Linked DNA regions of Homo sapiens: region 1 is linked to region 2. The links are contacts of gene promoters, found by promoter capture Hi-C in human tissues and cell types (Jung and others, 2019). All regions are on one chromosome and are shown on one strand. The core of a region is centred on a gene start or on the middle of the fragment in contact, and the rest is flanking DNA. Distances in the headings are between cores, read along the strand shown.

The links. The method cuts DNA at HindIII sites, captures the fragments that hold promoters and counts their contacts. A contact is called where the count stands out against the background at its distance.
Region 1: a fragment that was not itself captured here is called in contact with the fragment with the promoter of LGI2 in region 2 in 2 of the 25 tissues and cell types used here (IMR-90 fibroblasts and thymus).

What each region holds. Positions count from the first base shown.
Region 1 is chr4:24,731,912-24,738,911 of GRCh38, forward strand. No RefSeq gene overlaps it. Among named protein-coding and RNA genes, the nearest start is that of SOD3, 60 kb to the right of the region's middle. The HindIII fragment of the contact is 7,905 bases long and covers 1-7,000 here.
Region 2 is chr4:25,025,652-25,032,576 of GRCh38, forward strand. It overlaps LGI2 (leucine rich repeat LGI family member 2), which reads right to left and starts at 5,295. Exons shown (of 8, transcript NM_018176.4): 1 at 4,846-5,295; 2 at 2,856-2,927; 3 at 1,217-1,288. The coding sequence starts at 5,042. It overlaps LOC124900684 (a long non-coding RNA gene), which reads left to right and starts at 4,457. Exons shown (of 2, transcript XR_007058083.1): 1 at 4,457-4,582. LOC102723675 (a long non-coding RNA gene) reads left to right here. Exons shown (of 6, transcript XR_007058082.1): 6 at 1,029-1,252. The HindIII fragment of the contact is 9,452 bases long and covers 2,147-6,925 here.

The DNA.
Region 1 (7,000 bases), core at 1,801-4,300, 300 kb before region 2:
AATTGTTTTTGTATGTTTTTAATCTACCTAAAATATATTTCTGCATCTCTTAATATAGTGTGCACAGCAGTGTCCCACATCCAGAGCTTAAGGTAGTTCAGAACTTGGGCCCCCAGGCAATGCCCTGAACTAGAGTCCACACATCAAGCTCCTGGCAGAGCCAGGGTGGGAACTGCAGCTTCTGATTCTGGAATAATTTCTCATGAAGGCTTGTTTCTCATCATTATCTCCATACAAATATTTCTTGTTACTTATTCTATGTTCTTCTCGCTCACATTTTCCCCTCTTCCTGAACTCAACTAAGTCTAAGGGCTCTTAGAAGCATCCCAAAGTGTTGCCAAGTGGCCTGGGGTTGCTCTCAGAGGTTCAGAGGTACAAATCCTACAGGCAGAAACACAGCTCTTTTGGCCCTTTCCTGCTTTCTCCCCTCCCCCAATATACCGTATTTCCCAGAAGTCTACTGCGTGCCAAGCCCAATCCTGGATGCTGGGGAGACATCTGCGGAGGACAAGACATGATAAGAAGCACACAGTCTAGTGGGGAAAAGTGGGCCCAGAAAGTAAAGGAGTCACGATAAAATAGGATCAATTATTTGCTAAGGGCATGCAAATTGTTCAGTGGGTCTGGAATGAGAATTTGAAAGAAAACTGTGAGACATGGTTGAAGTTGGAGAAGTACAGAAGGGGAAAGCTCCCTCGGGGCCTTATATCAATGCTAAGGGGTTTGCATTATTTCCTGAAAGGACTAGGGAGTCCTTGAGGATTCAAGACAGGGAGCAACCTCAGCCTGTCCTCACATCTGCAGGGCCTACAGCCTGCTGCCTGCTTCTTGTCTCTTCCCTCCCCAGATTCTCCCGACTTGGGCAGGTGTGTGTTTCCACCATCCTATGTCCAGTCTCCCTCCACATCCCACTCCCAGGGAAACTGCTACCCCTTGACCACACTTCAAGGCCTGGTAGTGTGGACACTAGCAGTGGCTCCACCTTCAGGGGAGGAGTCCTGTGCAGGCCCAGAATTGGCTCAGGGCTGGAATATCAGTAATGCAGGGTCCTGGGTGTCTGCATTCTAATCTGGAACCGTCTGCAGGTGGAGGACCAGATAGGGCTTTGTTGGGAACGTTCCTTTAGCCTGCAGACTCCTTGTTCCATAGGGAGGGGTGCAGCTGAGACCCAAGAGCTCTGAGAGCCAGAGCTGGGCCCTCTATAGTACAGAATCCAGGAATGAAGCCCAAGGCAAAAGATTGTGCCGCTTGCCTCATCAGATCCCTTGAGGCAGGGCCAGTTAAAAGGCGGCTAACGTATTTTATGGGATATCAATGGTGATCTGAAATGGGCAGGAAACAGCGTTGAAAGGAAGAAGACCAATTTGAGAACAATTCAGGGAAAGAAATGGACAGGTGCAGCCGGGCGCAGTGACTCATGCCTGTGGTCCCAGCACTTTGGGAGGCCGAGGTGGGTGGATCACGAGGTCAGGAGTTCAAGACGAGCCTGGCCAAGATGGTGAAATCCCGTCTCTACTAAAAATACAAAAAATTAGCCGGGCGTGGTCGTGGGCACCTGTAATCCCAGCTACTCTGGAGGCTGAGGCAGAGAATTGCTTGAAGCCAGGAGGTAGAGGTTGCAGTGAGCCGAGATTGTGCCACTGCACTCCAGCCTGGGCAACAGAGCTGGACTCTGCTTCAAAAAAAAAAAAAAAAAAAGAAAGAAATGAACAGGTGCAACCCTCCTGGCTGGTGCAGTGGTCTTGCCCCTGTCGTCTGACAACGTTCCATATTGTAGCTGAAGGGGCTGCTGTGTGCAGGCCCAGGGCAGCCTCCAAACACAGAGGATGACAAAGGGGAAATGCAGGGTTCTAACTAAAATGTGTACCTCTGTGTGGAAGTGAGCTCTGAAGGGTGAGTGTGAGTCAACCAGTGAAAGAGGGTGAGATGGCAGGTGAAGGAGAGAGGAGAGTGGCGGGGAAAAGCATTCCAAACAGAAGACTGTCAGGAGGTGAAGACACTGAAATGTCTGCAAATATTCTCTACGGCAGGGGTGAAAGAGGGAGGTGGCAAGTGGCAAAGGTAGGTTCGACCCAGACTGTCTGTGGCATTAGTGCACAGCTGTGTGCGTGTGTGTGTATGTGTGGTGTGTGCACATGTGCACACTTAGGTGGGGAGGAAAGGCACATAGGAGATACATCTCCAAGCAATGCATTTAAAAAGGTTGCACATCTCCCCAGCCAGTCAGAGGACTGTCGGCCTCAATGCTCACTTCCTCTCTTTTGCATGGATGTGTAAAAGTGCAGAAAGAATTCAATCTCAAAGAGATGAAGAGAACATCACAATAACAACAACACACGCATGCCCAAAGCAAAATGAGCAAGAGCTTCAAACAGCTCTTCATCCCACACAGATGAAAGTAATTCGATATTTGACACAACTAAGTATCTAAAATGCAGGCAAGAGTGACATGACTTAGATGCCAATCACGCTGCTTTTAACGAGTTCTTCCATTGTGTTTATGTCTGAGGCCACAGTAGCCCCAGAGGACTCCTGGGTCAGTTATCTATATTTGGAACATTGTGTGTACTCTCTTTGCACAAAGCAGGGCCCACTTCCAGGAAGATATTATGTTTTCCCCATCAATAAAGCTTGATTTTTATGGGTGTTTAAAACCATACTAGCAAAACCCATTGGTATTATGGGTAGGTGTTGAACCAGTTGCAGGATGCAAGTCAGCCATCTTCTATCATCCTCGTGAGCTCAAATGCCCTAAAATATTGCCCTTGAGGTTCTTCCCAGAGAGACCAGCCTTGCCAATTTTGCAGTATTGTTGAAATAAGAAAGAATTTCTGGAAGATTGCAAGGCATTTGGAAAGAACCATGCATTTTCTTGAGGGATGCTGGCTGAGTCTATTTTTAGGCTGCCTTATTGAAAGGCCACTTCTACTTCATCTCCTTACTACAAGTCCTCCTGTTTTCTCTTTTAGTATTCATGTGGTTTCTAATATGGGGTGGTGTAAAACTTAAAATTAAGGTCTAATATTATCTGTACCTTGACATCCGGTAATATTGGGAGGGTCTCAAATGCCTAATCACAAGTTCCCATTCCCACTCTAGAGTCCCACAGAGTCCCGTGGCCAAAGGACCCTTCTTGTTAAATGAGCCAGGTGTAGCTCTTGCTTATCCCTGAGTAGCCAGTTTCAGTTCTCTGCTAGTCTGCAGAATTATCTAAACAAGCCAATCTATCCTCTCGTGGGAACCAAGGAGGACCCCACCCTCTTGATACTACACAACCTGCCTTCCACAACCTCTTATGGTTCACTCTGCTCTCAATTGCACCCCCCCGTGTGGCCCTGCATGGTGCAGCAATTCTTCTCTTTGGGTGTGAGTATATGTCACTAGTAAACTGCTGCTGATCTCAGCTGTCCAGTGTTAGGCGTCTCATGTTCAGCTATTCCTATAGCCCTAGGGAGAGAATCTCCTTGTCATCAATGGGCTAAATAGAAGGTGGTTAAAATAATGGGAGGTAGACAAACCCTGGCTTCAAACCCCTGTCCTTCCCAGGTTTTAGCTGTGTGACCTGGGAAATTGTTTAACTTCTCTCAGCTTGAGTTCCCTCAACTGTAGAGCAGCATTTGCTTTATGAGTTTTTTGGGAAAATTAAATGGGATCATTTACTCAGTTAATCTTTTTTTGTTTGTTTGTTTGAGATGGAGTTTTGCTCTTGTTGCCCAGGCTGGAGTACAGTGGTGTGATCTCAGTTCATTGCAACCTCCGCCTCCTGGGTTCAAGAGATTCTCCTGCCTCAGCCTCCTGAGTAGCTGGGATTACAGGCACACACCACCATACCCAGCTAATTTTTGTATTTTTAGTAGAGATGGGGTTTCACTATGTTGGCTAGGCTGGTTTCGAACTCCTTACCTCAAGTGATCTGCCCACCTCAGCCTCCCAAAGTTCTAGGATTACAGGCATGAGCCACCAAGCCTGGCCTTACTCAGTAAATCTTTACTGAGGCCTTCCTAGGTGCCAGGAACAGGGACTGTAGCAAAAACTGCATGCTGGGTTTTTGTCCACAAAGAACTAATATTCTAATGGAGGGCATAAACAACACACATTTAAAAATTAACGAGAGGGTTACAAACAGGTGCAGTGCTATGAAGAAAAAAATGCATCAAATAACAAGAATGGAATTGCTCATGCTGGGTGGAGGATGGGGGGCAATTTTAGATACGGATAGCATGGAGGGCTCTCTGGATGGTAACGTTAGAGCTGAGACCTGAATGATGAAGAGTCAGCCATTAGAAGATTTTGGAAACAGCTATTGTAGGCTGAAGGAACAGCAAATGCAAATGCCTCCAGTAGGAGGCAGCAGGGCCTGTTGGAGCAAGGCGAGAGAAGTCAGCGTGACAAGTACACGTGAAGAGTGATATGGTTTGGCTCTGTGTCAAACCCAAATCTAATGTTGAATTGTAATCCCCAGTGTTGGGGGAGGGACCTTGTGGGAGGTGATTGGATCATGGGGCAGATTACCCTCTTGCTGTTCTTGAGATAGTGAGTTCTCATGAGATCTGGTTGTTTAAAAGTGTGTGGCGCCTGTAATCCCAGCACTTTGGGAGGCCCAAATGGGCAGATCACGAGGTCAGGAGATCGAGACCACCCTGGCTAACATGGTGAAACCCCGTCTCCACTAAAAATACAAAAAAATTAGCCAGACATGGTGGCAGACGCCTGTAGTCCCAGCTGCTCAGGAGGCTGCTGAGGCAGAAGAATGGTGTGAACCTAGGAGGCAGAGGTTGCAGTGCGCAGAGATAGCACCACTGCACTCCAACCTGGGTGACAGAGTGAGACTGCATCTCAAAAAAAAAAAAAGTGTGTGGCACTTCCCTCTTCACTTTCTCTTCCTCCTGCTCCAGCCATGTAGGACATGCTGGCTTCCCCTTCACCATCTTCCATGATTGTAAGTTTCCTGAGGCCTCCGTAGCCATGCCTTCTGTATGGCCTGTGGAACTGTGAGTCAATTAAACCTCTTTTATCTATACGTTACCCAGTTTCAGGTACTTCTTTATAGCAGTGCAAGAATGGACTAATACAGAAAATTGGTACCACAGAAGTGGGGTATTGCTATAAAGATATGTGAAAATGTGGAAGTGATGTTGGAACTGGGTAATGGGCAGAGGTTGGAATAGTTTGGAAGGCTCAAAAGAAGATAGGAAGATGAGGGAATGTTTTGAACTTCCTAGACTTGTTGAATGGTTGTGACCAAAATGCTGATGGTGATAAGGACAGGGAAGTCCAGGCTGAGGTGGTCTCAGGTGGAGACAAGAAACTTATCGAGAAGTGGAGTAAAGTTCACTCTTGCTATGCATTAGCAAAGAGACTGGCGGCATTGTGACCCTGCTCTAGAGGTCTGTGGAACTTTGAAGTTGAGGGAGATGATTTAGGGTATCTCGCAGAAAAAATTACTAAGCAGCAAAGCATTCAAGATGTGGTCTGGCTGCTTCTAAAAGCCTATGCTCATTTGCATAAACAAAGAAATGACCTGAAACCAGAACTTGTATTTAAAAAGGAAGCAGAACGTAAAAGTTTGGAAAATTCGCAGCCCAACCATGTGGTAGAAAAGAAAAACCCACTTTCTAGGGAGGAATTTAAGGCTGTAGAAATTTGCATAAGTAAAAAAGAGCTGAATGTTAATAGCCAAGAAAATGGGGAAAATGCCTCCAGGGCATTTCAGAGACCTTTGTGGCAGCCCCTCCTTTCACAGGCCTGGAGACCTAGGAGTAAAAAGTGGTTTAGTGGGCCAGGGCCAGGGACTCATGGCTCTGTATACTCTCAGGACATGGTGCTCTGCATCCCACCTGCTCCAGCTCCAGTCATGGCTGGAAGGGGCCAAGGTACAGCTTGGGCTGTTGTTTCAGAGGGCACAAGCCCCAAGGCTTGGTGGCTTCCATGTGGTGTTGGACCTGCAGGTGCACAGAAGGCAAGAGTTGAGATTTGAGAGCCTCCACCTAGATTTCGGAGGATATATGGAAATGCCTGGATGTCCAGGCAGAAGTCTGCTGTAGAGATAGAGCCCTCATGGAGAATCTCTACTCAGGCAGGCATAGGGGAAATGTGGGGTTGGAGCCCCTGCCCAGAGTCCTCACTAGGGTATTGCCTAGTGATGCTGTGAAAAGACGGCCACATTTTGAAATGTCAGAAGGACATGAGATTTGGGAGAGGCTGGGGTGGAATGACTGGAATGATACGGTTTGACTCTGTGCCCCTACCCAAATCACATGGTGAATTGTAATCCCCAGTGTTGAGGGAGGGACCTAGTGGAAGGTGATTGGATCATGGGGGTGGATTTCCCCCTTTCTATTCTCACAATAGTAAGTGAGTTCTCATGAGATCTCATTGTTTAAAAGTGTGTAGCGCTTCCCCCTTTGCTCTCTCTCTCCTGCTGCCATGTGAGGATGTCCTTGCTTCCCATTCACCCTTCTGCCATGATTGTAAGTTTCCTGAGGCCTCCCAGCCATGCTTCCTGTACAGCCTGTGGGACTGTGAGTCAATTAAATCTCTTTTCTTCATAAATTATCTAGTCTCGGGTTATTATTTATAGTAGTGTGAGTATGGACTAATACAAGGAGTATGGCTCATAGGGCCCAGTGTGTGCCTTCCTGAGGAAGCCATCCAAAGTCAAAGCCCTCCCACTGCAACTACTGCAGTGCATTGCTGGAAAATACAAGCTCTGTAATTCTGAAGCAGAAGGGATGCAAAGGGGTGAGCTGGAAGGAAGGCATGATGATTTCTTGGCTGAACCAGTGTCTAAACCAGTGAAAGGTCTGACTGGAGAGCATTTTTAAAGAAATGCTGCTTTTCCAGAGATTAGAACATAAAGACAGCTAGATCAAATTTTGGCAAACAGAGATCCTGTTGGGAACTGTTGCTGTGACTAATTAATAATCCCACTTGAAACTACTACCTCACCTGATGGAAATACCATGCTTCTTCTTCTTCTTTTTTTTTTTTGAGATGGAGT
Region 2 (6,925 bases), core at 4,045-6,544:
TTAGTTACAGCATTATATTAAGTCAAATATAAGAGGGTCTTTGATGAGATGCTCCATGGTTGGGGCTTTGAAACACAACATCATCAACGAATTAGTTCTTGATTCTTGCACTGAGAACTCACTGATGGTTTTTAAAACTGAGATGTCTTTTCAGTAATAGACTTCAGCATAAACTGATGAGCTAACTTCCTCTCCAATAACCTTGACCATAAGATGAACTATCGTAAGAGAAAACTCATAGCTTTACAACTGCTACCTCCATTGGCTATGTATGTGCTTTGATAGACCTTAGTCAGATTTAGCATTGCAGTCCTGCTACACTTTCCATACTATGTATATGATAATATCAGAGTATTATGCGAATACACATATTATGTATACTCTGGAGAAAGAATTCCTCCAGGAACATCTTTTCTCAAGACACAAAGTCAGCAGAGAGCTTTCTTATATCTAGGATGTGTCTAGAATTCCAATACCTACCTGTTGAACTCAGACAAGAAAATGAGACAAGGCTTTAAAAATCCCTCTGAATGCTAAGTGAGGCTATCCCATCTGATAGCAGGATTAACATTATTACAAAGTTACCAAAGACAAGGATGAAAGAACTTAAAGGGGAAAAAAGACATGAAAGGAAGAAAAGGCAGAAATCAGAACAAGGGCAAAGCTCATTGCGAGGGGAGAAATCTGCACATCAAAAAAGGGAAAAATGACCTTTTTTTAAGGAAAAAAATAAAATAAAATTAGACCCTCAGTAGCAATTCATAGGAGATACTGCAAAAGAGATGTAGAACAGTGAGTGAACAACATGAAGTTGTACCCCCCAAATAGGGAGGCTTTCTTAAAAATAAGTAACCCTCAGAACCCCGCAGCTCTATTTCTGGCTGGTCAGCAAATCCATGCCTATTTATGAGAGGTAAAAATATCCAACGCAACTTCCAATTGTGCTTACTACATGACAAATTAAATGTCAGCAGAGAATGAATGACTATCTCTCCTTCTTTGTTTTGTCTCTCCCTCTTTGTCTCCAGCCTCCTCCTTCCCCAGCATGTTTGTAAGCAAGTAAACTATAAAAGGTCAGTGCTGAAAAGAGAATGGGGTGTTCTCCAGTTTCTCCACCCCTAAACCCTTGCAGAGATGCTGTTCCAGCACAGAAACCAATCCAGAAATTCTACCAAGATACCGAATGTTCAGCAAATAGACAAAGCACAAAACTTACAGGTATTCAAGATGAAAAAGTCCAGCAAAAGCATCATCCCGGATGATCGTGAATGAGTTAGAATTCAGCAATCTGAAAGTAAGAGACAGATTCCAATGGAGAGATGTAAAACTTGAGTCACATGGTAAAGCCATTTCTCTTTCCTTTGCTACGTTTTGATCTGTGGGCAAACATGAGCTCTTCTTAGCCTAAGGAGACCACATTTTGTTGTCAAAAACCTGATTCTCACAGCCTGCTCTTAGAGACGATGGCAAGTGGATTCCTTTTGACCAGATTTTCTTGTCCTCTCCAGAACTCTACTCCTTTCTTCCCTGTGTGTCTCAGTAAATATGATCTGATAGCTGTGACTTTAAAACATTATAATGCTCAGCACGACTAAACAGCCAGTGAATGCTTTATGGTACACAAGCAATCATAAAATTAGAGATCTAAAAAGATCTAATCCAAATCTATTTTTACGAAAATAAAAGCCCAGAGAAGCTAAGTGACTTGACCAAAGTCATGCAGCTGGACCCATAACAATAGTTAAAAAAAAAAAAAAAAAAGTTTGTTTAAGAAACTTTCAGGAGACTGTTACTACGTAGTTTTCTATTTGAGTCATCACCCAAGTCTACTGGCAAAAGAATACCTAAAATTGTATTTCTATTATATGAAAAGTATATTTTAATAGCACTGCAATTTCTAAGAGGCCTCAGATTTTAAAATGTTAAGTGTAATGTTAAAAGTAGGCATATAAGATTTCAAGAACAAAAGTATCAAGAGTATGTTTATTGAGGATGAATAGTGCTCTCCTATATTCCATTTATCCAAATTTTTCTATAGCACATTGCTTGTTTTAATTTCAGTCTCATCTCAAATTTAAGAAACCAACACAGATCAAGAGAATGAGGTGTGTACTCTTACTTTGCCTGTCACTGGATTGCTTTTGAAAACTACTTTTTGGACATTTGTTTTCATCAGCACACATTACCCAGCCTGGGTTACAGGGCACAACATGAGCATCACCACAGGGACTTGAGCATTGCTCACAGAGAGGAGATGGGATGAGGAATAGTTAGGAGTGTGGGCTTTTGGCCCTGGACTAGAATCTGGCTCTGATTTGGGACAAGTTAGTTAAGTTCCCTGAACCTCAGTTTCCTTATCTATCAAATGGGATCATAAGCATGCCTTCATCATACCGATGAAGTGATGATGAAATAAAATTACGCACGTAAGTTCATAGGATGCTGCCTGACTGGTTTAAGTTCTCAGCAAACTAGAAACACTCCTATTTCCAGAGTAACATTAAGATTTTAAAATGAAGTTTTCTTTTAAACTGAGGTGTTTGGGAAACAGTGCATTTAGGTGACTTTCAGGTCATGAGTCAATGCAATTACCTCCCCATTTACTAGATCTGGGTGTTGGGATCTACAATAAAGTCTCTGAAGAAAACAGGTATCGAACTAAGGAAAGAGCTGAGCAGGGAGCCTCAGTGCTTTGCTGGGGACATCACAGGGTAAATTAACACCAAGAGGCAGCCACGGTCTCCTCACGGAGCTGGGGTACTTTAGGAAGGGCTGATACCAAAGAGGCAGAGACGGCCCTCCAAGGATGGCACCTCAGGGCCCCCCATTGTGCAGAGGGAACTTCCCATACTCACAGCAGCTGCAGAGAAGGCAGATGGGAAAACATTCGGTCCTTGATTTCTGAAAACGTCCCATTTACCAGGCTCCTACGGGCAAAAGATGAACAAAAGTAGGCCTAGGTTTCTTTTAGGAAGTGCCATGCAGGGTGGGTAATCAAACTCTGCCTCCACCTGTACTTCAAACCCTGACTCTCAGGAGTGAGGCATAGCACAGTTGCCCAGGATCTTCCCCGGGGTAGGAATAAGAAGAGACAAGCCACTTCCCAATGAATCAGATCAATATGAAGACTAGTCTGAATAACAGAAACCTTTACCATCAGCTCCTTCCACAGACATTATCTCGGTCAGTTTAAATCAATCCCTTCACTTCCTTTTCTTAACTACAGGAGGTCCTTGCCTGAAAATGGATAATCGCTTCACCTCTGCCCATGATTCTGTTTGTGTAGACACAGCGTTGTGTTGGCCTATGAAATGCTGGGGTAGGATTAAGCATTCCTCTTGGGACCCCATCTCTGAAAGACAGAGCACTCCTGATTAAATGCAACATGAAAGCCCTGGGGAAAAACTCACAGACACCTGAACTCCCCTGTGTGGGGAGAGGCAGTACCATCTGCCAGATAAAACGGTCAACCAGGAGGCAAGATGCTTGGCTTTATTTCTGCCCCCAGGCCCCCATCCTTTCTGGCCACAGCAGGATCTGAATACATTATTTCAGAATTCCTTTCAGTTGGCATGCAGATCACTTAAGCAGCTGCTGGTCTGAAGGATTTAATAAGGGGAACTCTAATTTCTGGAATCCTCCATGTCACCCGACTTAGCAATATTAAGAATCAAAAAGGTCCTCTGTTCCCACCAGCCAAACTCTTCTGACTTTCTATAAATGCAAATGGGAACCCCCTCACTCCTGGGTCCAGGCCCCTACAATTTGCCTTGGGTGGGAGGCTGGGAAGCACTGGACACAAGAAAGTATCTTGAGCACAAGCAACGTCACCCCGGGGATTCCCTGCCTCCACCACTGACTGGGCACCCAGGCATCTTGGCCTGGAACAAGAGAGTGGTCTTAGCAGGAAACATGTCCTAGCAGTAAAGATACAGCCCAACAGCCCCTTCCACCGCCCTTGTGAGAGCTGGTCATTTGGCTTGAGTGGCCAGGTGAGGGCAGGATGAAAGCACCTCTCGGCAGGTGGATACCTAATGTGAAGCCCTTTCCTGTCAGTTCCTCCTGCTGAAAAAGCAGCCAACACAACTGTGTGATGGAGAAAGGGGGCAAGAAGCCCTCCTGACCTCAGGGCAAGAAGGCTGACTTCAAAGCACTTGGCCACTGGGCTAGGCGCCCAACATGCCCCAAACCTCTGCCCAGCCTTCTGTTACCCCTCTTCTAGGCCACGGGGGGCGGCCCCTCCCCTCCCAGAGCCTGCATGCCTTGACCTCGACTTTTTGCAACCTGCAATGTGGAGAAGTCGGGAGGAGGCCACGGGGTGAACATTCGCCCCAGACCTGATGTGGGGCAGTGAGGCCTCACCCTGCCCAGTTTGCACTCAGTCAGGTCGTGTTCAGCTGCTCCTATGCACGCCCCTACACACACAACTCCAACCCGCAAACACACACACACACACGCACACGCCCTCTCAAACTTTAATGCACCCTTGAGTCTCCCGGGGACGTCAAACGCACACTCCAGGACTCCACTCCAAAGACTGCTTCAGAGCAGCTGGATTCTGCATTGGCACAAGCTTCCCCAGGTGAGTCTGATGCAGGTGGCCCGTGGGCCACACTCTGAGAAACGCTGCCACAGGAACCTGTCTGGGTTCCCAGATTCTGGGGCTCAGGTCCTCACCGTCCTCCCCGGGGGCCAACACTCCACCCACGTCCCCCACACAAAGGCAAAGAAGGGGCCTGGGGAGTGGGTCAGGGTCGCGCTGGCCCGGCGCCAGAGGCAACTCCCTCGCGGCGGCGGACGCAGGGTGGGGCGGGACGGGATGGGGGCTGGAGGGGTCCCACTCACAGGGAGCTGATGTCGCCCGGCACGATCCTGGGCACCCAGGAAGAGCCCACGCAGATGATAGACTCCTTGGTACAGCTGCAAGTGGCGGGGCAGCGCGCCAGCCGCCTCACCTGCGCGCTCCGCGGTATCAGGCACGCGGCGCCCAGCAGCAGCAGCAGCAGCCCGAGCGCTCCGCAGCCGCCTCTCCGCAGCGCCATGCCCGGTCCCCGCTCCCCGCCCGGGCCCCGACCCCCACCGCCGCGCCGCGCGCTCGGACCCGGCGCCGCTGCAGACGCGGGCGCCGCTCGCTGCTCTGCCGCCGCCGCTGCTGGCGAGGACTAGGGAGCCGCGGGTGTGGGAGGCCGAGCCGCAGCCGAGCAGCATGCTGGCCGCCACCCCCACTCGGCGCCCCCCCACCCGAGCCCGGGCTGCTGGGCGGCCGCCGCCGCTGCGCCCGCCGCACTCGCGCCTGCCTGACATCAGCACTCGCGCCCGCAGCCCGGCTCTGGCCAATGAATAATGCATGGCGGGGCCCGCCCCGCGGGGGAGGGGGCCAGCGCCGGCCCCGTGGCGCCCCACCCGGCCCCCACCTCGCCACCCCCTCTCGCCCCGGGCCGGGCGCGGGGACAGAGGGAAAAGTTGGGTGACCTTGGGGGAGGGGCCAAGCCTGGCGGAGACCCCCGTCGGGGCCTGACTGAGCGGTGGAGGATCCGATGCCTGCAATACCTCCAGGGGTATAATCTGGGGAGGGCACTGGGTTCCTTTCAGGCAAATCAATAAAGTCGGAGCGGGGAGTGTGGAGAACCGGCTTGATTACTGGGGAGGGAGGCAGCCCTGGGTGCTTTGAAGAGGAGAGACTTTGGAGCAGCCTTTATTAATTTTGAAGTGCATGCTGCCGGTAGGGTCAGCGAGGATGGCTTTGCTTGTCTTCTGCGGTGGGGCAGTGAGGTCTGGCTCTCGCTCCCACAGCACCAGGGGTTACTGAAGCCAGCCAGTCCTCCCATGGGAGGAACGTGGGGAAGCAAAGCCGCTGCAGCCTGCACGCCCGGCGCTCTGGGCCCTGCCTGCTGCCTGCTAAAGAGCTGGAAAGCCCGGGAAAGTTTCCCCTCGCTCAGCTGCCCACGGGTCACCCCACCCGCCCCAGTCAGAGGAGGGTTTGTAGAGATTGAGGGTGTGATACATTCTAGCCACTGTACTTTTAATCTTCTAACCTTTTGAGGCAGGTCCTACTTATATCCTTAATTTATTGATGAGGCTGCTGACGCCCAGAAAGCATCCTGACTGGCTGATGGTCCAGCAGCTCCTGGCTGGGCAGGATGGGGCTCGGAGCCTTGAAGGGCTACCTTAACTGGGCCCTCCTGAGCCCCTCTTCAACTCCTTAAGTTTGAAGCAATGAGCGGAAATCTTAACACAGGTAATGTGCGGCTGAGGAAATCAAAGAAAATGACCAAAGCGGAAACAAAGTAATGGCTAATAACCTGAACTGCTGGGAGAAGGGAATCACAGCACGACTGTCGAGCTGCAAACCAAGGAAAAGCATGCCAGATGCTAAAACCTACTCAGAAAAGTCAGTATCGAATGCAAAAGTAGGAATCATACTATTGCTTCTTCAGCAATTATTGTTGGTGATCCATTGACAAGATCCATGAGGACGGTATCAGGCTGGCTGCTGTGGGAGGGAACAAAGGAACAGCTCCTGTCCTCAGGGAGCTAAAAGTCTAGCTGGACAGACAACCCTAAAAGAGCAACTCCACTGGCTACAAGGGGGTCACAGACTGACCAAAAGAGGTTCAGGAATTGAAAGAGAGCTTTGCGTAGGCAACTTCATGGAGGGAGTTAGACATTCCCTGCTGGTGACTATGTAAAAAGCACCTGGCATCAGTACAAACCAGCCTGCATTTATCATCATTTAATTCTTGCATCTGTCCTGAGAAATGGGTCCTCCCATTTTATGGATGGGAACATTGAGCTCAGAGAAGTTTTTATCTTGTCCAAGATCACACAGGACATGGCCAGGGAGATCATACTCCACAACTGGCTGCTGTGTCTAACCCTCGCTGCTGTGTGGGCATGCATTTACAAATACTTTACTCAGCAAGCC